2 separate regions of the Homo sapiens genome follow, and region 2 is linked to region 1. The links are contacts of gene promoters, found by promoter capture Hi-C in human tissues and cell types (Jung and others, 2019). All regions are on one chromosome and are shown on one strand. Each heading gives the region's core, a stretch centred on a gene start or on the middle of the fragment in contact. The rest is flanking DNA. Distances are from core to core; before and after follow the strand shown.

Region 1 (5,135 bases), core at 2,417-4,916:
CTATGTGCTGTAGTCCTGGGGAGCCAGGACCGGCTCATGGCTCCATCCTCCGGACCCTTGGGCTTAGGTTCTAGGTGCGCTAGGGTATCTGAAATGCTCCCAGGCCACGAGGAATGCACTCAGGTGGAGCAAAATGCCCAGGCTGGGTAAAGAAAATGTGGCACATATAAAGCATGGAATACTTGCAGTCATAAAAAAGGATGAGTTCATGTCCTTTGCAGGGACATGGATGAAGTTGGAAACCATCATTCTCAGCAAACTAACACAAGAACAGAAAACCAAACACCGCATGTTCTCACTCATAAGTGGGAGCTGAACAATGAAAACACATGGACACAGGGAGGGGAACATCACACACCAGGGCCTGTCAGGGGGTGGGGGGCTAGGGGAGGGATAGCATTAGGAGAAATACCTAATGTAGATGACAGGTTGATGGGTGCAGCAAACCACCCTGGCACGTGTATACCTATGTAACAAACCTGTATGTTCTGCACATGTACTCCAGAACTTGAAGTATAATAATAAAATAAAGAAAATATACTGAAAATATATTTTAAACATAATTAACATTTTGATTTTATTTTTACTTTTCATTTTGAAACTCAACCACTCAGAATTAAATTAATTTTAATTCCTGCTTCATGTCCATTCACTTATTTATCCAGATATAGCCATTTTGATTTATTTGTTCATTACTAATTATTTATTTTTAATAATGGAATAAAGATTCCATTATTTGGGTAGTGACACAAAGCCACTGCACAAAACAAAAGCTAGGACTCTATCAACAGCCCATATCAAGCCTGCTAGTTCCCCTAACATTCCATCCTTCTCTTTCCTCTCACCCAAAAGGCGCATCACTAAGAATCTTATGTTTATTGTTTCTTTTGTCTCATTTTATTGTAACTATTTTTCTAAAGAATACACAAACATATATCTAGTACTGTTCTTTTAATTGTATAAAAATGTCAGACTCTGTATCGTTTTTGGAACTTCTGTCCATTAACATTGTATTGCTAAAATAAATTCATATTGTTACTTGCCACTATATTGTACTAATTTTTACTCCTATATAATATTAAATTAGTGAATATACTACAGTTTATTTTTATACTGTTTTTGGATATTTTGATTGATTCAACGTTTTGTTAATATGAATAGTGTCACTATAAACATTTTTTACATATCTTCTGTTGTACATGTGCAAAAATTTCTCTTAGTTTTATACCTTATCATGGAAGTGCTAGAGTTTGCAAATATTCAATTTTAGTGAAAAAAAGTGTCAAATTTTTCCAAAGTGGTTGCTCTAATCTGTAACATGTAAAAGAGCCAATAGATTCACATTTGGTATTATAAGATTTTTAGGCATTTGGAATCCAGTGGGGGTAAAATGGTTCTATATTATTATCTTAATAAATATTATTAAAAAATAGAAACTTTCCTCCATTTCTAATTTGGTCAGATAAACTGTCTATTTCAAACTAATTACAAAACTATTTACGTCCTACTTTGAGCTAATTTTTTCTAACTCTTGTGTCATTCCATGATATGGTCATGGTCATGGTCAGTACTCTCATATAGTCGTTATGGCCAATGTGTTCTCTGCTATAATCCCACTCCCCTAGACAGAATGTCAGGGAGTGAGATCATGTATTTACTTAAGCTTTCCAGCTATTCATTCTTTCTTACTGTAGACACCTCATCTCATCCCAAACGATTTTTAAAGCTATCTAAGAAATTTCCATTGACTACTTAAGTTTGAAAAAGATTTTATTAAAAATATTGCACTACATGGACACATTTACAAACACAGTCATAAGATTGCAATGGTCTATAGAGAGCTGGCCCAAGTGACTAAGTATTTTTTAAAAACCATTCAATTTGATTTCTGGATTTTCATGTTTCTTTCTTATAAGACACTAAGTTACCTAATTTAAACGCAAAGCCACGTTTAAGGTGATTCTCAGACATCTGAAGGAAGGACTAAGGAATGTTCTTTAAATTGGGAAATAGGGCAGGAGAGAAATCCTAGTGCAAAGCTCCATACTCAGCAAAAGCAAGGTAAGTATGATGATGACTCATAGGCTTACTGTTGTTTGTTAAGATACATGGAATTTCCAGGAGGAAAGAAGAATGAGAGTTATGGTAAAAATAAGATGGAAGCATACAGATGTGATCCTGAAACCTTCCCTCCCACCCCTCATCAACCTGAATGCAGTAAAACAAAGTGAGCTTATATGCATTATCCATGGAATGGCAACTTTCATTCTGATTAAAGATATTTAAAAGCATCAGACATCTCTAAGAGGGCTTAGCTGAAACTCTCTATGTATTTCTGATGGCAACGTATTTGGCCATTATGAACCAAGATAGAATGTACGTTTTCTAAACTGATACTGAATTGTCTAAGTTGCTAACAAGAAATCCTTTCATAACAGTACAGTTTTTAACCTTTACTTCTTTATTCATCTTTAATTCCTTGCCACTTCCCACTGAGTTGAAATGTTTATATTAAAACAAAACACCCACTGGAATTCTAAAGAAATTGGCTCACCCATCTTTCAAATTACAAGATATTTTTTGACAGTATACAATATTCATTATAATGGAATAAACATTTTAATTTCTTAAGGAACTCTAATTTTCCTTAAAGGAGATGTTTACAACTTACTATTATAAATGCTGCCACTCAATCATAGGAGAAAATGATACTAAAATAGTTCAAGGCTAAAATCACACATAGGGCAGTTGTTCTCGAATATTTATAAGGCCACGAACTCATTTATGTATAACCTATAAACTTGAAGAATTTTTGAACCAATACAGTGGCAAGGAAAGCTAACAACCTAACTGTTAAGATCTATGGTCATTATTTTTCATTTAGTCCTAGAAATACATTTCCTTTCTGTAATGAATCAATATGGTCTAACTCAAAGAGAAACACGTGGAAGTGAAAAATAAATTTCTAAAGCAAGTGCTGATGGAAGAAGCAGAATTTCCCATTTAAAATACCCAAACAACTCCAAATTCTTTAGTAGTTAGGACTCCTGAAATCTCTTGACATAATAGAGAAGCAAAGACCCATAGAGAGATATGCGGTTAAATAGTGCTGCCTCTGGTGGCAAAAGCAGTTGCTAAGTTGTTTCACAACATATTTTTCCCCCACAGGCACAGGCCCCCCAAACACTGGAGCCGTCTACGAATTATTCTGACGCTAACTCCACAGCTCCGGACAGAAACACAATAGACGGGCGTGGTCTTATAATCATAAGCCAGTTCCTTTCTCAAGTCCTTCCTGCCTATGTTCGCTTACGTGTTATGGGTTCTGCGGTCCTGATGAAACTCCCTGAACGGAGAAAAACCACACACTTCATCCCAGTGGCGAATTTCTCCTCTTGCTCTAAGCAGGGTGTTTGACCTTCTAGTCGACTGCGTCCCCTGTACCCGGCGCCAGCTGTGTTCCTGACCCCAGAATAACTCAGGGCTGCACCGGGCCTGGCAGCGCTCCGCACACATTTCCTGTCGCGGCCTAAGGGAAACTGTTGGCCGCTGGGCCCGCGGGGGGATTCTTGGCAGTTGGGGGGTCCGTCGGGAGCGAGGGCGGAGGGGAAGGGAGGGGGAACCGGGTTGGGGAAGCCAGCTGTAGAGGGCGGTGACCGCGCTCCAGACACAGCTCTGCGTCCTCGAGCGGGACAGATCCAAGTTGGGAGCAGCTCTGCGTGCGGGGCCTCAGAGAATGAGGCCGGCGTTCGCCCTGTGCCTCCTCTGGCAGGCGCTCTGGCCCGGGCCGGGCGGCGGCGAACACCCCACTGCCGACCGTGCTGGCTGCTCGGCCTCGGGGGCCTGCTACAGCCTGCACCACGCTACCATGAAGCGGCAGGCGGCCGAGGAGGCCTGCATCCTGCGAGGTGGGGCGCTCAGCACCGTGCGTGCGGGCGCCGAGCTGCGCGCTGTGCTCGCGCTCCTGCGGGCAGGCCCAGGGCCCGGAGGGGGCTCCAAAGACCTGCTGTTCTGGGTCGCACTGGAGCGCAGGCGTTCCCACTGCACCCTGGAGAACGAGCCTTTGCGGGGTTTCTCCTGGCTGTCCTCCGACCCCGGCGGTCTCGAAAGCGACACGCTGCAGTGGGTGGAGGAGCCCCAACGCTCCTGCACCGCGCGGAGATGCGCGGTACTCCAGGCCACCGGTGGGGTCGAGCCCGCAGGCTGGAAGGAGATGCGATGCCACCTGCGCGCCAACGGCTACCTGTGCAAGTACCAGTTTGAGGTCTTGTGTCCTGCGCCGCGCCCCGGGGCCGCCTCTAACTTGAGCTATCGCGCGCCCTTCCAGCTGCACAGCGCCGCTCTGGACTTCAGTCCACCTGGGACCGAGGTGAGTGCGCTCTGCCGGGGACAGCTCCCGATCTCAGTTACTTGCATCGCGGACGAAATCGGCGCTCGCTGGGACAAACTCTCGGGCGATGTGTTGTGTCCCTGCCCCGGGAGGTACCTCCGTGCTGGCAAATGCGCAGAGCTCCCTAACTGCCTAGACGACTTGGGAGGCTTTGCCTGCGAATGTGCTACGGGCTTCGAGCTGGGGAAGGACGGCCGCTCTTGTGTGACCAGTGGGGAAGGACAGCCGACCCTTGGGGGGACCGGGGTGCCCACCAGGCGCCCGCCGGCCACTGCAACCAGCCCCGTGCCGCAGAGAACATGGCCAATCAGGGTCGACGAGAAGCTGGGAGAGACACCACTTGTCCCTGAACAAGACAATTCAGTAACATCTATTCCTGAGATTCCTCGATGGGGATCACAGAGCACGATGTCTACCCTTCAAATGTCCCTTCAAGCCGAGTCAAAGGCCACTATCACCCCATCAGGGAGCGTGATTTCCAAGTTTAATTCTACGACTTCCTCTGCCACTCCTCAGGCTTTCGACTCCTCCTCTGCCGTGGTCTTCATATTTGTGAGCACAGCAGTAGTAGTGTTGGTGATCTTGACCATGACAGTACTGGGGCTTGTCAAGCTCTGCTTTCACGAAAGCCCCTCTTCCCAGCCAAGGAAGGAGTCTATGGGCCCGCCGGGCCTGGAGAGTGATCCTGAGCCCGCTGCTTTGGGCTCCAGTTCTGCACATTGCACAAACAATGGGGTGAAAGTCG
Region 2 (5,522 bases), core at 2,681-5,180, 46 kb before region 1:
TAGCTATATTCTAAGGTATTTACTTTTATGGCTATTGTGAATGGAATTGCTTTCTTGATTTGGCACTCAGCTTGGATGTTGTTGATCTATAGAAATGCTACTGATGTTTGTACATTGATTTTGTATGCTGAAACTTTACTGAAGTTGTGTATCAGCTCTAGAAGCTTTTGGGCAGAGTGTATGGGATTTTCTAGATAAAAAATCATATAGTCTGCAAACAGAGAGAGTTGGACTTCCTCTCTTCCTATTTGGATGCCTTTTATTTCTTTCTCTTGGCTGATTGCTCTGGCTAGAACTTCCAGTGTTATGTTAAATAGGAGTGGTGAGAGTGGGCATCCTTGTCTTGTTCTGGTCATCAAGGGAAATGCTTTCAGCTTTTTCCCATTCAGTATGATGTTGGCTGTAGGTTTGTTATAGATGGCTCTTATTTTGAGCTATATTCCTTCAGTTCTTGTATGTTGAGGCTTTTTAACATGAAGAGATGTTGAATTTTATTAAAGACTTTTGTTCATCAATTGAGATGATCATATGGTTTTTGCTTTTCTTTCTGTTTATGTGATGAATCACAGTTATTGATTTTCATATTGAGGATTTTTGCATCTATGTTCATTAGGGATATTGGCTTGAAGATTTCTTTCTTTGTTGTGTCTCTGCCACTATTGGGTGTCAGAATAATGCTGGCCTCATAGGATGAGTTGAGAAGGAGGCTCTCTACCTCAATTTTTGGGAATAGTTTCAGCAGAAACTGTGGCAGCTCTTCTTTATATGTCTGGTAGAATTTGGCTGGAAACTGTCAGATCCTGGGCTTTTTCTGGTTGGTAGGATTTTTATTACTGATTCGATCTTGGAACTCATTATTGGTGTGTTCAGGTTTCAATTTCTTCTTGGTTCAATCTTGGAAGGCTGTATATTTCTAGGAATTTATCAATTTCTTGTAGGTTTTCTAGTTTCTGTGTATAGAGGTGTTTGTAACAGCTTCTGAGGTTTCTTGTATTTTTGTGGGGTCAGTAGTAATGTCGCCTTTTTCATTTCTGATTGCATTTATTTGGGTCTTCTCTCTTTTTTCTTTTTAGTCTAGCTAGCAGTCTATAAATGTAATTTTTTCTTTCAATAACCAACTTATGGTTTCATTGATCTTTTGTATGGCTTTTCACATCTTAATTTCATTTAGTTAAGTTCTGATTTTTGTTATTTTTTGTCTTCTGCTAGCTTTGGGGTTAGTTTGCTCTTGTTTTTCTTGATTTCTTCAATGATCTATGTACTTAAGTGTGTTTTTGTGGTTGCTAGTGATGGTTTTTTTTCATATTTAACACTCCCTTAAAGACCTCTTGTAAGGCAAGGTGTGGTGTTAGGCTGTGAATTTGAGATCTTTCTACTTTTTTGATGTGGGCATTTAATGCTATAAACTTTCCTCTTAACACTACTTTAGCTGTGTCCCACAGATTCTGGCATGTTGTATCTTTGTTCTCATTAGTTTCAGAGAATTTCTTGCTTTCTGCCTTAATTTCATTATTTACCCAGAAGTCATTCAGGAACAGGTTGTTTAATTTCCATGTTATTGTATGGCTTTGGGTGATATTCTTAGCATTGGTTTCTATTTTTATTACACTGTGATCTAAGAGTGTTGTTGGTATAATTTCATTTTTTTTTAATTTGCAGAAAATAGTTTTATGGCCAATTGTGTGGTTGATTTTACAGTATGTGCCATGTGCAGATGAGAATAATATATATTCTGTTGGTTTTGGTTGGAGAGTTCTGTAGATGTCTTTTAGGTCCATTTGGTCAAGTGTCAAGTTTAGGTCCCAAATGTCTTTGTTGTTTCTCTGCCTCAGTGATCTATCTAATACTGCCATGGGGGTGTTGAAGTCTCCCACTATTATCATGTGGTTATCTAAGGCTCTTTTAAATCTCTAAGAACTTGTTTTATAAATCTGGATGCTCCTGTGTTGGGTGTATATATATTTAGGATAGTTAAGAGTTCCTGTTGAGTTGAACCCTTTGCCATTCTGTAATGCTCTTATCTTTTTGATCATTGTTGGTTTAAAGTCTTGTTTTGTCTGAAATTAGAATAGCAACCCCTGATTTTTGTTGTTGTCTGTTTGCTTGGTAGATTTTTTTCCATTTCTTTACTTTAACCCTATGAGTGTCATTGAATGTGAGATTAATCTCTTGAAGACAGCATACAGTTGGGTCTTGCTTCTTTATCGAACTTGTCACTCTGTGCCTTTTAATTAGGGCACTTAGCCCATTTACATTGAAGGTTAATATTGATACATGTGGATTTGATCCTGTTATTGTGGTGTTACTGGTTACGATGTAGACTTAATTGTGTAGTTGCTTCATATTGTCAATGATCTATGTACTTAAGTGTGTTTTTGTGGTTGCTAGTGATGGTTTTTTGTTTCCATATTTAGCACTCCCTTAATGACCTCTTGTAAGGCAGATCTTGTGGTAACACATTACCCTAGCATTTGCTTGCCTGAAAAGGATCTTATTTCTTCTTTGCTTATGAAGCTTAGTTTGGCCAGATATGAAATTCTTCATTGGAGTTTGTTTTCTTTAAGAGTGCTGAATATGGACCCCAATCTCTACTCACTTGTAAGTTTTCTGCTGGAAGGTCTGCTGTTAGCCTGATGGAGTTCCCTGTGTAGGTGACTTGCCCTTTCTCTCTAGTTGTCTTTAATATTTATTCTTTCATATGAACATTGGAGAATCTGAGGGCTTTGTTTCTTGGGGATGGTCACCTTGTATAGCATCTTGGAGGGGTTCTCTGCATTTCCTGAATTTGAACATTGGCTGCTCTCTTGAGGTTGGGGAAATTTTTGTGGACAATATCTTCAAATATTGTTTTATTTATTCCTTAGATTTCTTGGATTCAGTTTCAACTTTCTCCTGAATCTTGATGATCTTTGTTTCTATCCATATTCTAAATTCTATGTCTATCATTTTGGCCTGGTTAAGAACTATTGCTGGGGAGCTAGTGAAATCATTTGGACTCAAGAAAACACCCTAGCTTTTTGAGTTGCCAGAGTTCTTGTGCTGACCTTTCTGATCTGTGTGGGCTGATGGTCCTTTTATCTTTGAAGTTGCTGTCCTTTGGATTTTTTTTTTAACTTTTATTTTTAGTGCCCTTGAGAGTTTGACTGTGATATCAGGTGGGTTTAGTAGACTATCTTCAATTCTGGAAGATTTCGGGAGACCAAGGCTCAACTCAGCGCTGTTCAGCTGTGTGCTCTAACTCTGGGGCACTGGCAGGGGGTAGGGTGTCAGTTGGGCAGGGTGCTAGCAGGGGTGAGTTTCCAGCACCTGTGCAAGCACTTACTCCAGCAGCAGCAGTGGAAGCAGTGCAGTGGGCTGCCCACACCTCAGTAGGGGTGGACTGCCAGCAAGGGTGGGTGGGGTGGCAGGATGAACTTGCTCTGATGGTTGGTGAAGTGGTGAGGTGTGCACACACATGCATACCATTGGGGATGTGATAGTGAGGTTTGGTTACATGAATGCACTTGCAAAGCAGTGGGAGAAGACCATGGGTGAGTGCATGTGGCAAAGACCCAAGGGGAGGCTGTAGTGGGGGCAGGACGTGTATGAGTCAGAGAAGCTGGAGCTCTCCAATGGTCAGGGATGGTACCAGCAAAGGAGCTATGATGAGGGCACCTGAGAATCACCCTGGTTGTGCATCCAAGGCAGTGCTGTAATTGGGGGTGGGTAGGCTGGTTGTCCAGGAGAGGCTAGGAAACAGGGAACCCCATTTCATAGACAAGATGTTCTTGCTCTGTCCAGGTTCAACAGTCACTCAAAGGCTAGGGACACCTAGAGGAGCTTGGAGAGCGTTGGGGGTTGAGCATTCTTGGCCATGCTCCATTGCAGACCTTCCTGCACCAAACCCTATAGGTTCCACACAGGCTGGAGTCCTGCCCCTGCCATCTCTCTAAACAGCTCTCCCTGCCAGCTCCAGTGTCCATGTGGATGGTGGGCTTTCTGCAGCTAGGATTCCAGAGGTCTGTGGTGAGAGTGAGCCACTCCTCACCTGTTCAACTCACTCCTTCCCCAGGAGTCACTGGAGGCCTGCAGTAGGTCCCAGTGCTTTGCAGCCCCAGCGTTCCCAGCTTCCTCTCCCATCAGTCCAATGTCTGTGTCCTCCCTTGGTCCACTCTCAGTGTTTTCCCTCTGAAGATCTGCTCAAAGTGTGCCAGTCGTCCTGATGTCCTGGTCTTTTGGTAAGAGTTGTTCCTTCTGGCTGTGTCTAGTCAGCCATCTTGGCTCTCTCTCCTGTCTTGATTAGTGTATTTAGACTACTATTATTGATATAGCTGGATTAATATCTACCATATTTGCTATCATTTTCTAGTTATTGTCTTTGTCCTTTTCCCCCTTTTTTTATGTTCTACTCTTCTTCTGCCTTTTGTGATTTAAACTGAACATTTTATATGATTCCATTTTCTCTTCTTTCTTAGCACATCAATAATATTTCTTTTGTTACTTTTTTTTAGCGGTTGTCCTAGAGTTTGCAACACACCTTTACAGCTAACAAAAGTCTGCTGTCAAATAACACTATACCACTTCACAGGCAGTGCAAGTACTTTATTAAAACAAAATATCCCTAATTCCTCCTCATGTCTTTTACATCATTGATGTCATTCATTTCACTTATATATACAATGTAATTATCAAATGCATTATTGCTATTATTTAGAACAAACTGTTATCCATTACATCAATTAAGAATGAGAAAAGTATTTTAGTTTTGCCTCTACTTATTCATTGTCTGATGTTTTTCCTTTCCTTATACAGTTCTAAGTTTTTGAACAATATCAGTTTCCTTCTTTTAGAAAACTTATTTTAAGATTTCTTGCAAGACAGCTTTACTGGCAACATATTCCTTCTCTCTGAGGTGGACTTTTCCCTTTACTTTTGAAGAATAATTTTGCAAACCTTAGAATTCTAGGTTGGTGCTTATTTTCTCTCAAAATCTTAAATATTTTACTCCACTTTCTTCCTATTTGCATGGTTTTTAAGGAGCAGTCAGATATAATTCTTATCTTTGCTCTTCTATAACTAAGGTTTCGTATTCTTCTAACTTCTCTTAGGATTTTTTCACTATCTTTGATTTTTTTGTAGTTTGAATATAATATTCCTATGTGTAGTGTTTTGGGCATTTATTCTGCCTGATGTTCTCTGAGCTTCCTAGATCTGTAGTTTGGTGTCATTTCAGGAGGAAATTCTCAGTCATTATTGCTTCAAATATTTCTTCTGTTTCCTTTTATTTCTTTTCCTTCTGGTTTTCCCATTACATGGATATTACATCTTTTGTAGTTGTTTTACAGTTCTTGGATATGTGTTCTACTTTTTTCAATTTTTTTTTTTAATTTTCAGTTTTAGAAGTTTCTATCGTCACATCCTCGAGCTCAGAGATTCTTTTCTCAGCCATGTCCAATCTACTAATAAGCCCATCAAAGGTCTCTTCATTTCAATTACAGTGTTTTTTATCTCTAGCATTTATTTTCGCTTCTATCTAAGAAGTT

What was found. The method cuts DNA at HindIII sites, captures the fragments that hold promoters and counts their contacts. A contact is called where the count stands out against the background at its distance.
Region 2: a fragment that was not itself captured here is called in contact with the fragment with the promoter of CLEC14A in region 1 in 1 of the 25 tissues and cell types used here (neural progenitor cells).

Annotation. Positions count from the first base shown.
Region 1 is chr14:38,254,624-38,259,758 of GRCh38, reverse strand. It overlaps CLEC14A (C-type lectin domain containing 14A), which reads left to right and starts at 3,666. Exons shown (of 1, transcript NM_175060.3): 1 at 3,666-5,135. The coding sequence starts at 3,737. LOC112268136 (a long non-coding RNA gene) reads right to left here and starts at 3,714. Exons shown (of 5, transcript NR_169588.1): 1 at 3,314-3,714. RefSeq lists an enhancer at 3,857-4,484. The HindIII fragment of the contact is 7,223 bases long and covers 124-5,135 here.
Region 2 is chr14:38,300,066-38,305,587 of GRCh38, reverse strand. All of the region lies in intron 4 of LOC112268136 (a long non-coding RNA gene), which reads right to left. Among named protein-coding and RNA genes, the nearest start is that of CLEC14A, 47 kb to the right of the region's middle. The HindIII fragment of the contact is 5,182 bases long and covers 1,340-5,522 here.